Linked DNA regions of Homo sapiens: all the other regions are linked to region 4. The links are contacts of gene promoters, found by promoter capture Hi-C in blood cells and fetal thymus (Javierre and others, 2016). All regions are on one chromosome and are shown on one strand. The core of a region is centred on a gene start or on the middle of the fragment in contact, and the rest is flanking DNA. Distances in the headings are between cores, read along the strand shown. Region 1 holds the start of GNB3 (G protein subunit beta 3). Region 2 overlaps CLSTN3 (calsyntenin 3). Region 3 holds the start of CD4 (CD4 molecule). Region 4 holds the start of PHB2 (prohibitin 2).

Region 1 (3,090 bases), core at 297-2,796, 130 kb before region 4:
CTTCCCCAGAGCCCCCTAGCCGCAGGCACCAGAGGGTCCAAGACAAGACTGGAAGGGCACCTCGGGTTCGGGAGGAGCTGTGAGTGGCTGAGCCAGCTCCTTGAGGATGTGGCCACTTGACTTGTGGAAGGCCATCTTGATGCCAGGACACACAGGAAGCCCCTGTGTGACATCAGGAGCAGAACAGCAAGCTCTCTGTCCCTGCACCCCCACCATCTTGGGGACCTACAAGGGCCTGGACTCAGAGGACAGTGCACAGGCTAGCCTGGAGCTCACCAGGCCTGGGGAGCTGGGACGGGGCCCCGCTGCCGGACCTGCAGCCCTGGACAGATGGGGAACACTGTGCCTCCCTGAACAGAAATGGCAGGGGAGGAGGCTGATGCTTTAAATGAAGAGGATGGTGGGGTTGGGAGGTATAACCCTGCTCCTCTCTCCCAGTCTGTGCAATAAAGGTCGTGAAGATCTCTCAGCCAGGGGCCAGTCAAGTGTATCACAGATTCTGTGATGGCTGGAGGTGGGGGTGGCTCTGGCTGGCCTGGGAGGAGACAGGTGTCTTTGGGCCTCCCAGAGGCGGGGCGCCTGGAGCCTGTGATTTGTCAGGGAAATCTCAGCCACCTGCTCCCCTCATGCAAATGACCCAAGCCCCTGGCAGCTGCTCCTTAGGCCTCCAAGTGTAAGCCCTGTCTTCCCTCTCTGAGCTTTGCTGAGACTTAGGGCCGCCTGCTTTCTCTCTGACCCCTGCTTTCACAGCCTCGAGAGGGCAAGGAGGGGGCCAGACCCCAGCCTGGGAGCAGCGTGCGGGCCTTCCCTCCACTTGAAATCCGTTGCCCGCCCACAATAGGGGCAGACCTGTCCATCCTTCTCTGTGGGTCCCCTGTACCTTTCTCCCCCAACAGGATCAGACCCAGAGGCAGCTGGTTGGGGTTTGTCGAGAAGAAGGATTATCCAGATCAGTCCTTTCTAATCTCAGCTCCTGCCTGTACCCTCCCATACTCACCAAACCCTCTTCCCCACCACCCTGAGCTGAGGAGCACAGTTTGAGGTACTGACAATGGGGCCATCTATCACCCTTATATCCCACCTCCTGGCCTGGTTGCTAAGTGGCCCTGACTGCCAAGATCATCACCATGGATGGGGGCCGGGACCAGGGGGGCCACTGGAGCTGTAGTTGTCTGCTCCTTTGCACCCCTCCCAAACCCCAACCCTTAATCCTCACAGCTTTGCTCTAATCCTGTGGGGCCTGATGCTCTTATCTCTGCCTGCAGAGACTGACCAGGGAAGCACCCCTTCACCCCCTCCTCTCTCAGGGCTTGTGGTGGGGGCTGCCCCTCTCTATGGCCCCACACTCCTGCCCCCAACCCTCCTCCCGGCTGGGCCCAAGTCTCTCTGGAATCCGTACACCTCCCTCCCTCCCCCCACCCCTTCCCCCCACCCCTGCCAGCTGATTTCATTTGCCTGACGTTGTGGTTGGCTCTACCCTTCCCTGTCAGGCCCCCCCAACCCCCCGCCGGTCGGGGCCAGGCCAGGCCAGGCCAGCTCCTCTGGCAGCAGAGCCTGGGCAGGTGACGGGCGGGCGCGGGCGTCGCAGCTGAGGGAGTAAGGAGGCTCCCAGGAACCGGAGCTGGAAACCCGGCCGAGGTCCAGCCAGAGCCCAAGTAAGAGGGAGCTGGCCTGGGCTCTGCTCTCCTGGGCTGGGGCGCAGGCAGGGCTCAGGCAGGCTGGGGCTGGACGCAAAGGACCTCAAACTTGGAGGGCCTAGCTGGGGAGAGGGTGCAGCCACCCAGTCGTTTCCCTGTGTCTTGGAGTCTGGTGTGGGCACGAAGGGCAGAAGCACAGCCTGGTGGGGGGTTCCTCAACACCGACCCCATGTTCCTGGCAGGAGCCAGAGTGACCCCTCGACCTGTCAGCCATGGGGGAGATGGAGCAACTGCGTCAGGAAGCGGAGCAGCTCAAGAAGCAGATTGCAGTAACTCCAGAGCCCTACCCCTGGGGCCCCAGAAAACAGCTGGGGACATGAGGAGCGTGGCCCAGGGGGAGGGGGCTGGGTTTGCTCTTGAGTGACTAGAAGTGACCAGGGACTTTCTAAACTTGGTTCGCATATTTGAGACCCCCAAGCCCCAGAGCCCCAAGACCAACCTGCCCTGAAGGCCCATGCACCTGCCACCCCCACCTCGCCCTTGCTCCCCTGATGTCTGCTTTCCCTGCAGGATGCCAGGAAAGCCTGTGCTGACGTTACTCTGGCAGAGGTAAGACCCCCTGTCCCCCGGAAGGCAGGGCATGGGGGGAGGGGAAGGGAGCTCCCCGACCCGCAATAGCGCGTTGCTCCGAGCATTAGTACAGCACGTCCTTGGAGTGAGGAAACCCATTAATTAATTCATTCGACCAACATTTTAGCGGGACCTGCTCTGAGCCAGGCACCATATTGGATGCGAAAGATGCGGACACGGTTCCTATTCTCATCCGTAGAACAAGAGTGACCACAGCCCCCTCCCAGGGCCTTGAAGATGAAGAAGCGATAGTACTTTGTAAATTATAAAGCCCTTGTAGACTCTAGCTGCTAGTTTTCTATGCTGTATTTTGTCAATTCTAAGATGCACATTTCTTCACATTTTGACATCTCTGAAATCAAGGTGCATTCAGCAATGGATCATTGTTTCAATTAGAATTGACAGCATCTTTTCTTTCTTAGTGATGCATCTTAGATTGGATTAAATATGTTAATAGTGAACACTTTTTATGAGCCAGATACTGGGCTAAGCTGCATAAATACCTGATTTCATTGAATTTTCATGATATCTCTGTAAGGTAGGTGCTATGATAAGCCTCATTTTACACCTTGAGTAAACAGACTCAGGGAGGTGAAGCAACTTGCCCAAGATAACAAAGCAGGCCGGGCGCAGTGGTTCACGCCTGTAATCCCAGCCCTTTGGGAGACTGACGTGAAAGGATCACTTGAGCTCAGGAGTTTGAGACCAGCCTGGGCAACATAGTGAGATCTCTTCTTAATATAAAAAAAATTGCTTTTAACTTTTTAAAAAAAGATAGCAATGCAAGTGATGGCAAATCAAGTCTGTTCACTCTGGACCCCCA
Region 2 (3,398 bases), core at 161-2,660, 180 kb after region 4:
TGTGGACAAGTGCCGTTTTGCATTTTCCTAGCCTGGAAGATCCTCTGGCTTTGATTGTCCCTAGGGAAGGTGTGCTGGGTTTAGGCTCCGAATGCTTCTGTCTTCCTGCTCCTCTCCATAGCCTGGCTCACCTCCACTTCTGGTCCCACTCCTGTTTCCATTCAGGCTTCTCACCTTCCTCTCCTCCTTCGGCTCATCTCTGCCCAGCTTTCTAACCCTCTAGCTGTCTGTTTGTTACCGGTCATCTCTGTTGTTCAGCTCACTCATCTCACGTGCACACCAGAGCTTTACAAGAAGTACTCATCTCTTAGTGAATAGTGGGAGTGATGATTTGGTAGTTTCCAAAGGAAGCCAGGAGGGAGAATGGAGAAGATGGAGATAATCAGTTCCCTTCTATTTCCACTCCTTTCCAGGGCTCACTGAGGACTTCTGTATTTTCCTCTTTCTCATATTCCCTCCTGCTTGCCATCTCCCTTTCTGTCTTTCAGGATGTCTTTATCTCCTTCTTTCCATTCCTCCTCAGAACCTACAGAGCAGGAAATGGAGCCTTGATCTCTCCATCCTAGTTAGTCAGAGTGGGCAGGGATGGAGGGGAGCATCCCTCCCTTCGACCTCAGGTCGCACTTCTGCGGAGATGGGGCTGACCTGCTCTACAGCTTGTGTGGCGTCAGCTGGTGGGAGTCCAGGAGAGAGGGTCCTGCCCAGGTCCTGCCTCCACTGGCCCCTGCCCTGAGGTGCTTCCTCATCTCCAGGGGTGGAGAGCATCACTGTGTATGAAGAGATCCTGAGGCAGGCTCGTTATCGGCTGCGACACGGAGCTGCCCTCTACACCAGGAAGTTCCGGCTTTCCTGCTCGGAAATGAATGGCCGTTACTCCAGCAATGAATTCATCGTGGAGGTACCCAGAGAGTCTCCTTCCTTCCACAGTTACCCACCCCCAGAAAGGAGCTGAGGTGGCATGGACTCAAAATGTTAGTTGGTGGGCATGGACATGGCAGCGTGGAGGGCTGCTGGACCTTGCAGTGGGTGGAGGAGAAGGAGATGGGGGCAGTAGTTAGGAGATGGGGCTGGGGTCTAGAGAAGTGGGGAGGACCTGGGAGAAGCGTGTGTGCCCATGGAGCCCTCCCTCTGCCCAGGTCAATGTCCTGCACAGCATGAACCGGGTTGCCCACCCCAGCCACGTGCTCAGCTCCCAGCAGTTCCTGCACCGTGGTCACCAGCCCCCGCCTGAGATGGCTGGACACAGCCTAGCCAGCTCCCACAGAAACTCCAGTACGTAAGCCTGGTGGGGCTGGGCAGGGAGGGGCAGGTGGCAGGTGAGTGTGTTGGGACAGGTATCCTCCCCCTCCACCTCTGGGAGAGGACAAGGTAGGTGGAGCAATGGGTTCTGTTCCCTGTGGTACCTGCCTTAGTTGACAGCTATGGACCAATCCCTCTCTCCCTTTGGATCATTCACTTTCCCTTGTGAAGAACATGAGCCTTGTGTCATTGTAGGGATGCTTATGCCTGCAGTCATAAAGTCAGTGTGGGTTTAGGCGTGTTTGTTATACCTGATGATGCCTCCTTCCCCAGCCCCAAGCAATATCAAATTAGCCCTGGACCTAGGATCCTCTGTGGTGAAACTATCAAGTATTTACTAAGCACCTACTATGTACTAGCACTGTCCTAAGATGATCTAAATGATTTATAGGATAGATCAGTCCCTATCCCCAAGGAGAGAATTGGTACTATTACATGTAAAATTATGTGCTACGTATGCAGTCACAAGAATATTTCTAAAAAATATATGCAAATATGCAAAGCGTTACATTCAGATGGAGTGCTGCCCTTCAAAGCTGCCCTTCAAAGCAACCTGGCCGTGGTCCCAAAGGTTCCCGGTCATGGTCCTTTACGAATGGTGCAATTTTATTTTCAACTTTTGAGTTGCGTAATTGTAGAAAAACCAGAAAATATCAAATATTTCTTTTAAAGAAGAAAAATCAGGCCAGGCACAGTGGCTCATGCCTGTAATCCCAACACACTAGGCTGAGTCAGGAGGCTCACTTGAGTCCAGGAGTTTGAGACCAGCCTGGGCAACACAGTGAGACTCTGTCTTTACAAAAAATAAAAAAAATTAGCTGGGCATGGTGGCAGGTGCCTGTAGTCCCAGCTACTTGGGAGGCTGAGGTAGGAGGATCTCTTGGGCCTGTGAGGCCAAGGCTGCAGTGAGCCATGATCACACCACTGCACTCCAGTCTGGGAGACAGAGCAAGGCTCTGTCTCAAAGGAAAAAAAAAAAAAAAAAAGAAAGAAGAAGACGAGGAAAACTCAGCCATAATTCCGTCAGAGAGGAAACCACTGATAATATGAGTATTCTGTTCCAGTCTTTTTTCTATGCTTAATTTTTCCTTTTTAGAAAGTTAGGATTAGCCTATTTTGTAACCTGATATTTACACTTCATATTATAAAACAAGTATTTTCCCACATTATTAAAAATTGCAAATGATGCTGATGTTGTTGAAAGTGATTTTTGGAACCCCTTCTTAGAATTGCTTTCAGAGCCAATTTATGAGGTGCATTTATTTTTGTTATTTTTTGGACATAACTTGCTTTTGACCCTGTTCAGTGTTACTCAACTTCATCACCCAGTTTTGCCAAAGTTGAATCTGGATATAATTTTAAGTTTTTAAACATTAAACCCACTCTCAAAGGCCATAGATCGGTCACCTTTGAAAAGAGTCAAAAGGTTGTGTCACAGGCTTTTGAGAATTGAAGGCAATTCTCAAAGGAGTCCACTAGTGCTTTCTGGGAAGAAATTTGTGGTCTCTGAACACTATGTGAAAGTACAGAACTTATTTCAATATATGTGATGGGTAATAATAATTATAACAAACACAGGGTGCTCTCATCATGTGCCAGGCACTGTGCTCGGGGGATTACGCTTATTAACTCATTTAGCCATCATAAACAACCAATGAAATGGGTACCAGAATTATCCCCTTTACAGGCAAGGACACAGAGGCACAGAGAGTTCAAGTGCCTTACCCAAGTTCACGCAGCTAGAAAGTAAGTGGAGCCAGGATTTAAATCCAGGAGGCATGATTCCAGTCTGTGCACTAACCATGGCCCTCACCCTTCTCCCCAGATGTTTGATGCTTTAAAAAAGATTAGTCTTATTACTTTAGAGTTGCATATAATTAGGGGGAGCCCCTGAGGGGCTTCCCAGGGTTTTCTGACTGAGGCCAGCTCCTCTGATGCCCCCAGGGATTCAGTCTGGCTTCCTCTCCTTGTGCAACGGCCACCACCTACACTGTCTCTTATTTTATTTTATTTTATTTTTCTGGGACTGGCTCCCTTCTTCCTTGCTGTCCCTGAAAACAACCGCAGAGGCTTTTGGGAGGGAGAGACAGGGTCTTGTT
Region 3 (3,171 bases), core at 443-2,942, 180 kb before region 4:
TGGCTTGAATCCAGGAGGCGGAGGTTGTAGTAAGCCGAAATCATGCTGCTGCACTTCAGCCTGGATGACAAAGCAAGACTCTGTCTCAAAAAAAAAAAAAAAAAAAAGAGAGATCAAGACCATCCTGGGCAACATGGTGAAACCCCATCTCTACTAAAGATACAAAAATTAGCTGGGCATTGTGGCGCATGCCTGTAGCCCCAGCTACTTGGGAGGCTGAGGCAGGAGAATTGCTTGAACCCGGGAGGCAGAGGTTGCAGTGAGCCAAGATCACGCCACTGCACTCTAGCCTGGGCAACAGAGTGAGACTCCCTCTCAAAAAAAAAAAAAAAAAAAAATATATATATATATATATATAGAATGCCTTTAATGAAGCAGTAAATACTAATTTTATTAAATCTCAACCCTTGAGTACGGTGTGTCATGAAATGAGAAGTAGCACACAGTACTATATGCTACAGATGAAGTACAATGCTGTCAAATAGGGGTACTTGTGTTAATTGTTGGAGTCGCAAGCTGAACTAGAGTTTTCTTTTCTTTTCTTTTCTTTTCTTCTTTTCAAGACAGGTTCTCACTCTGTCACTCAGGCTAGAGTGCAGTGGTGCAATCACGGTTCACTGCAGCCTCAACTTCCTGGGCTCAAGCGATCCCCCCACCTCGGCCTCCTAAAATGCTGGGATTATAGGCATGAGCCACCACTCCCAGCCCCACTTTTTTCAGACTGGAAAACGCACACTCACATGTGCATCTTTAAATGATCACTTGGGCTGTGGTATGGAGAATGGCGACCAGTGAGGAGGCAGGAGCTGTTGTCCGAGCAAGGGATGATATTGGCATCTTGGATTGGCATGGTGGCAGTAGTGGTAGTGCAGAGTGACTTGGGTAGATTTTGGAGCCATTTAGAAGGTAACATCCACAGGAACTGGTAAATAAATACGTGGGAGAAGTTGGGTGAAGGGGGTGTCAAAGATTACACCCAATTTATTTTGCTTGGGCAAGTTGGTGGATGGTGAGCCCCTCACTGAGTGAGAAGCCTGGAGAAGCAGGTTTGGAGGGTGGTAGTATGCAGGTGGTATGCATAGTTGGGGATGTGTGTTGAGTTTGCTATGTCCGGTGAGCTTCCCAGTGGAGATGTCCAATGGGCAGACGGATACTCACATAGAGAGTTCATGGTAGATTCGGGCTAGAGGAAAGCACCTGAGGCCTGGCCAGAGACGCCTAGAGGAACAGAGCCTGGTTAACAGTCACTCCTGGTGTCTCAGATATTCTCTGCTCAGCCCACGCCCTCTCTTCCACACTGGGCCACCTATAAAGCCTCCACAGATACCCCTGGGGCACCCACTGGACACATGCCCTCAGGGCCCCAGAGCAAGGAGCTGTTTGTGGGCTTACCACTGCTGTTCCCATATGCCCCCAACTGCCTCCCACTTCTTTCCCCACAGCCTGGTCAGACATGGCGCTACCACTAATGGAATCTTTCTTGCCATCTTTTTCTTGCCGCTTAACAGTGGCAGTGACAGTTTGACTCCTGATTTAAGCCTGATTCTGCTTAACTTTTTCCCTTGACTTTGGCATTTTCACTTTGACATGTTCCCTGAGAGCCTGGGGGGTGGGGAACCCAGCTCCAGCTGGTGACGTTTGGGGCCGGCCCAGGCCTAGGGTGTGGAGGAGCCTTGCCATCGGGCTTCCTGTCTCTCTTCATTTAAGCACGACTCTGCAGAAGGAACAAAGCACCCTCCCCACTGGGCTCCTGGTTGCAGAGCTCCAAGTCCTCACACAGATACGCCTGTTTGAGAAGCAGCGGGCAAGAAAGACGCAAGCCCAGAGGTAAGGTGGTCAGACTCGGCTTCCTTCCCCGGAGCTGAGAGGGAGGGGAACGTGGGGCAGATGCACAGGAATGTGCTCTGCCCAGTTGTCTGCCCACAGCTCTGGCCACCTTCTCTTGCATTTCTCTTGGAACTGGTCATGAGCAGCGATTTCCCACTGGAACTGTGAGCTTCCAGAGGTCAGAGACTGTGCTAGACTCCTCTCTGCAGCCCCAGCGTGCACAGCTCAGTGTCCAGAGCAATGGGTGCTCCTTAGAGGAGTAGTGACCTAAATAGCAAGATCAGAGAGGGAGTGAAGACTGGAGACTATCCCAGGCTGGGAAAGGCGTGGAAGGCAACTAGTCGTGGGCAGTTGAGGGGAGAAGACTGGAAGAGGGGAAAAGAGGAGAAAAAGAGTGAAGAAGGGGAGGGAAAAAATTAGAAAGAATAAATAAATATAAGGTGGGAGGAAACCTATAAAAAAGAAATGATGAGGAAAAACATAAAAACAAGAAAAAGAGCAAAAGAAGTGGAATCTAGTCTAGAGAAAATTCTTGCAAAACCAATTTTCCTTAACGGGACAATCTCCAAAAATTGACACCAAATATCATACTTGCAGCATTTCATAAGTCGCATGATCTATGTAATAGTCTCTTTTAACTACCTTTTGTGTTTCTGTGTGTATTTTTAAATTTTTGTCTGCTTCTTTGCTCTTTTAAGATTTTTGAACAATGTCTAAAGGCACTTCTACTCTAGTTAGCTTTAAAATGATTCATGAAATAGGAAAGCTAAAATTCTCAGAAAGTGTTGAAACTGAGCTTTTGCGTATGAATTGCCCTAAAAGTTGCAGATACATATCTTTAGATAAATATGTCATTTAAGAAACGGATTCGAAAAGAATTGGTGGTAGGGGTCTCATGAGGCCGGGAGAGTTACAGAAGGATGTGCAGCCCCTCCTGGGCCTGGCAGGGTGTGAGGGAGAGTGAGGACTCACTGTCCCTCCTGAAGGGAAGCCCTGTGCCATCTCAGCCTTTCCGCCCTCAGACCTTTCCAGCCCCTGAGACCTCATGGCCTTGAAGCCGTGCTATCCCCAGTGTCCTCTGCTTTCCCCTCATAGGCTTCTTCTGGGAGAGAGGTTTCCTGGGGTACGTTCTGATCCCTCAAAACGGAAAGGCCCTGTTCTCAATAATTCAAAGATTTCACTCTGAGTGGGATAGTGCTTCCTGAATGCCCTGCTCTTGTGGTGGACATTTTTATCGGGGCAAGGCTAAGAGCAGGGCCTGATGGGGGAAGTCACTGCTACTTCACATTTTGACCAATAATTCCTTGTGCTGTATCAGATGCTGTAGGCTGATACAAAATGGCC
Region 4 (3,401 bases), core at 61-2,560:
CCCAGGAGGCAGGTATTTTTGTTACAGCTCTTGCAGATGTGGAAAGAGGCCTAAAGGCCTGACACTACCATATTCCCCTGGGGTTTCTTGCCAGCTACCTTGATCATCCCACCTGCCATGTGATTACCAAGTGCTCAGACCTACCTTTGGAGCCTGTAGGGGAGGAGATTTTTCGAGGTCTGGCCCGAATGTCATAGATAATGGGGTACTGGAACCAAGGGATCCTGGAGAGGACAGGGATAGGTATTAAGAGGCCACAGTTTCGGCCGGGCGCGGTGGCTCACGCCTGTAATCCCAGCACTTTGGGAGGCCGAGGCGGGCGGATCATTTGAGGTCAGGAGTTCGAGACCAGCTTGATCTACATAGTGAAACCCCGTCTCTACTAAAATACAAAAATTAGCCGGGCGTGGTGGCGGGCGCCTGTAATCCCAGCTACTCGTGAGGCTGAGGCAGGAGAATCGCTTGAAATCAGGAGGCGGAGGTTGCAGTGAGCCGAGATCGCGCCACTGCACTCCAGCCTGGGCGACAGAGCAAGACTCCCTCTCCAAAAAAAAAAAAAGAAAAGGCCGCAGTTTCACTAGCCTTGCCCGGTTTCCCCTCACCACGCGTTTTTTGGCCTGCTCCTCTCCACGACCACAGACAAGGAGAGATTCTCTTGTCCCTCTGGAAAACAACAGTTTGTATGCTGCTGGAGGTTCTCGCAGCACCCACTATCCTAGGGGCAGGGATGAGGAGGGTGGGAAAAGAGCAGCGTTGAATCCTGTTGCACGTCCGACTATAGCCACTGCTGGGTCGGCGTCAAGGGTGAAAGGTCAGGGTCAGCAGGCTCTGCCCGCCATTACCTGAAGTGAAGGCCCTCGGCCAGGATAGTGTCCTGCTGCACTCCACCGATCCGATTGAAGAAGATGGCTCTGTGCCCGCCTTCCACTGTGGGGAGATGGGTGGTGATCAGGCCAGGCCGCTGCTCAGAGGAAATGCTAGGCCCGTGGAGGGGCGCGGGGACAGGGCAAGGGGTTTGGGGGAGGGACTGGAAGCGTCCGGCGAGCAGGCGGAGGTTGCTCACCGGTGAACACAGATTCGCGCACACCGTAGGCCACGGCGCCGGCCCCCAGCAACAGCTTCAGGGCCGTGCCCATGCCCCGGGGCCCGGCGGGCAGCCGTCCCGCCAAGTCCTTCAAGTTCTGGGCCATGTCTGATCTTGAGGCCGGCGGCACTGGAGGTCAGAAGGGGGTGCCGGCCCGCCTCTACCCCGCTCCGGCTTAGGTACTGCACCCTTCACACGAGGGTTCGGGCCCGTAAGGCTGGCGAAAGAAAGGGCAGCGGAAGTGCGCTCCCTTTGAAACCCTCCCCCTTAGCCCACTACGGACCCGAACTTCGCGCACAGGAATCGCGCATACGGAAGTCCCGCCCCTTTCTGGAAGGCTGCCCTCCCAGGGAGGGCAGCGCAAGACAGCAAGTCATCTCCATTTCCTGGCCCACTTTCAAAATGGCAGCCGGAAGGAAATTTGTGATTAGAAGCCGCGCTGTTCTTATTTAAGAGCGTTAGCGCAACTTCCGGTATTGTTGCAAGATGGCCGCGCCCAGTGATGGATTCAAGCCTCGTGAACGAAGCGGTGGGGAGCAGGCACAGGACTGGGATGCTCTGCCACCCAAGCGGCCCCGACTAGGGGCAGGAAACAAGATCGGAGGCCGTAGGCTTATTGTGGTGCTGGAAGGGGCCAGTCTGGAGACAGTCAAGGTAGTTTGGGACAGGAAGTGGAGAAGTAGTAAATCGATAGGTTGGGACTCCGTGGAATGAGGGTAAGGGGCCCAGAGTGGATGTAGAAAGCAGAGAGGGGTGAAAGATGCTTTTGAAGGAAGGTGGCTTGGTTGGCTTTGCGTTGATTTGACATCCTGGGATGGTAGTACTCATTTTTCTTTCTTTTTTTTTTTTTTTTTGAGACGGAGTCTCGCTCTGTCGCCCAGGCTGGAGTGCAGTTGCGCGACCTCGGCTCACTGCAACTTCTGCCTCCCGCCTTCAAACAGTTCTCCTGACTCAGCCTCTGGAGTAGCTGGGACTACAGGCAGGTGCCACCACGCCCGGCTAATTTTTTTGTATTTTTAGTTCAGATGGGGTTTCACCATGTTGGCCACGCTGGTCTCGAACTCCTGACCTCAAGTGATCCGCCCGCCTCGGCCTCCCAAAGTGTTGGGATTAGAGGCGTGAGCCACTGTGCCCGGCCGGTAGTACTCATTTTCTTTTGCTCTTTTTGAATGATATTCTAGCCCTCACCTCCTTGCTTCCAATTGGTTTACCAGGATTCTGTGGTATAGTAGTCTAAGCAGAGGAAAGTTTCGTTCCTTGCGTCATTCCACATCCCAAGACAAGTTACTGGGCAGATGAGAAACGTAGTTATGTAGCCTAGTCTGCCCACACTTTTTGTAAGGGCTTCGTGTTTCAATTCATTAGTATCCATAGTCACCTCTCTCTAATATCCACCTATGATACACTGTCCAGACCTGGTTATTATTTAAAACTTTTACATCTGCATTTTTATCTATCATTCATCTCTTTCCCCACATGTAATAGAACCAGCAGTTCTCTATCTTAAAGCCTTGGGCAGTGTTCTTCCTCCTCCTTTCTCTTACCCGTTAGAACTAATTGAATAGGCCCAGAAGAAATCGCATTGGTTTAGAAGTCAGGCCAGGATTTTAATCTTCGTTCTAAATACACTTTTTTTTTTTTTTTTTTTTGAGATGGAGTCTCAGTCTCTACCAGGCTGGAGTGCAGTGGCACGATCTTGGCTCACTGCAGCCTCCGCCTCCCGGGTTCAATCGATTCTCCTGCCTCAGCCTCCAGAGTAGCTGGGATTACAGGCCTGCGCCTGTAATCTATTAAAAGAATAGAAAACATGATTATATCCTACTAATGGGTTGAAACTGTATTATTCATTCAAGAAGGTTTTTTTCTTCTATAACTAAGGGTGTCTCATGGACTTAGTTCTTGGTCATTTGTTCTTTGTGCTCTCTGTGACATTACTTCAACTATTCAATTTCAAAATCTACATCCCTTTTTTCGCAGACTTTTTGGAGCCATATATCTCAAGAATGTTGCTAGACATATACATTCCAGTGATACATAAAAACTTAACCTTCCAAAACTTGTATTTGTATATAACAGTTTGTTTTTAGACTTTTTACTGACCACCCTAATGCTCCTTGGGACTCCAAATTGCAACTTGGAATTATTTCTTTTAGCTGCTACAGATGTAGTCCACTTCTTTAACATCAAACTTCTGATGTCTTTTCCAGTGTACAGAGAGTTGTTAGGATAGTGTCTGTCAGTCATTCCCATCCTGCCCTGCTTACTCCAGAATTATTTTTGGCTTTGTGCTTGATACATTAGGATTCTGTGGTTTACA

What was found. The method cuts DNA at HindIII sites, captures the fragments that hold promoters and counts their contacts. A CHiCAGO score of 5 or more calls a contact.
Region 1: a contact is called between the fragment with the promoter of GNB3 here and the fragment with the promoter of PHB2 in region 4, in 2 of 17 cell types (non-activated CD4 T cells and activated CD4 T cells). The highest score is 5.2, in non-activated CD4 T cells.
Region 2: a fragment that was not itself captured here is called in contact with the fragment with the promoter of PHB2 in region 4 in 3 of 17 cell types (erythroblasts, M2 macrophages and total CD8 T cells); the score reaches 7.7 in erythroblasts.
Region 3: the fragment with the promoter of CD4 here is called in contact with the fragment with the promoter of PHB2 in region 4 in 3 of 17 cell types (non-activated CD4 T cells, activated CD4 T cells and total CD4 T cells); the score reaches 6.2 in non-activated CD4 T cells.

Annotation. Positions count from the first base shown.
Region 1 is chr12:6,839,379-6,842,468 of GRCh38, forward strand. It overlaps GNB3 (G protein subunit beta 3), which reads left to right and starts at 1,547. Exons shown (of 10, transcript NM_002075.4): 1 at 1,547-1,655; 2 at 1,880-1,966; 3 at 2,208-2,246. The coding sequence starts at 1,910. P3H3 (prolyl 3-hydroxylase 3) reads left to right here. Exons shown (of 15, transcript NM_014262.5): 15 at 1-469. The coding sequence ends at 83. The HindIII fragment of the contact is 12,557 bases long and covers 1-3,090 here.
Region 2 is chr12:7,149,792-7,153,189 of GRCh38, forward strand. It overlaps CLSTN3 (calsyntenin 3), which reads left to right. Exons shown (of 18, transcript NM_014718.4): 15 at 753-898; 16 at 1,137-1,272. Among named protein-coding and RNA genes, the nearest start is that of CLSTN3, 21 kb to the left of the region's middle. The HindIII fragment of the contact is 5,620 bases long and covers 1-3,398 here.
Region 3 is chr12:6,787,836-6,791,006 of GRCh38, forward strand. CD4 (CD4 molecule) reads left to right here and starts at 1,693. Exons shown (of 10, transcript NM_000616.5): 1 at 1,693-1,827. RefSeq lists enhancers at 1,177-1,734, 1,550-1,599. The HindIII fragment of the contact is 6,468 bases long and covers 1-3,171 here.
Region 4 is chr12:6,969,354-6,972,754 of GRCh38, forward strand. It overlaps PHB2 (prohibitin 2), which reads right to left and starts at 1,311. Exons shown (of 10, transcript NM_001144831.2): 1 at 1,064-1,311; 2 at 843-927; 3 at 145-224. The coding sequence starts at 1,190. EMG1 (EMG1 N1-specific pseudouridine methyltransferase) reads left to right here and starts at 1,560. Exons shown (of 6, transcript NM_006331.8): 1 at 1,560-1,738. The coding sequence starts at 1,571. RefSeq lists enhancers at 1,235-1,837, 1,358-1,427, 1,518-1,697, 1,748-1,867. The HindIII fragment of the contact is 5,065 bases long and covers 1-3,401 here.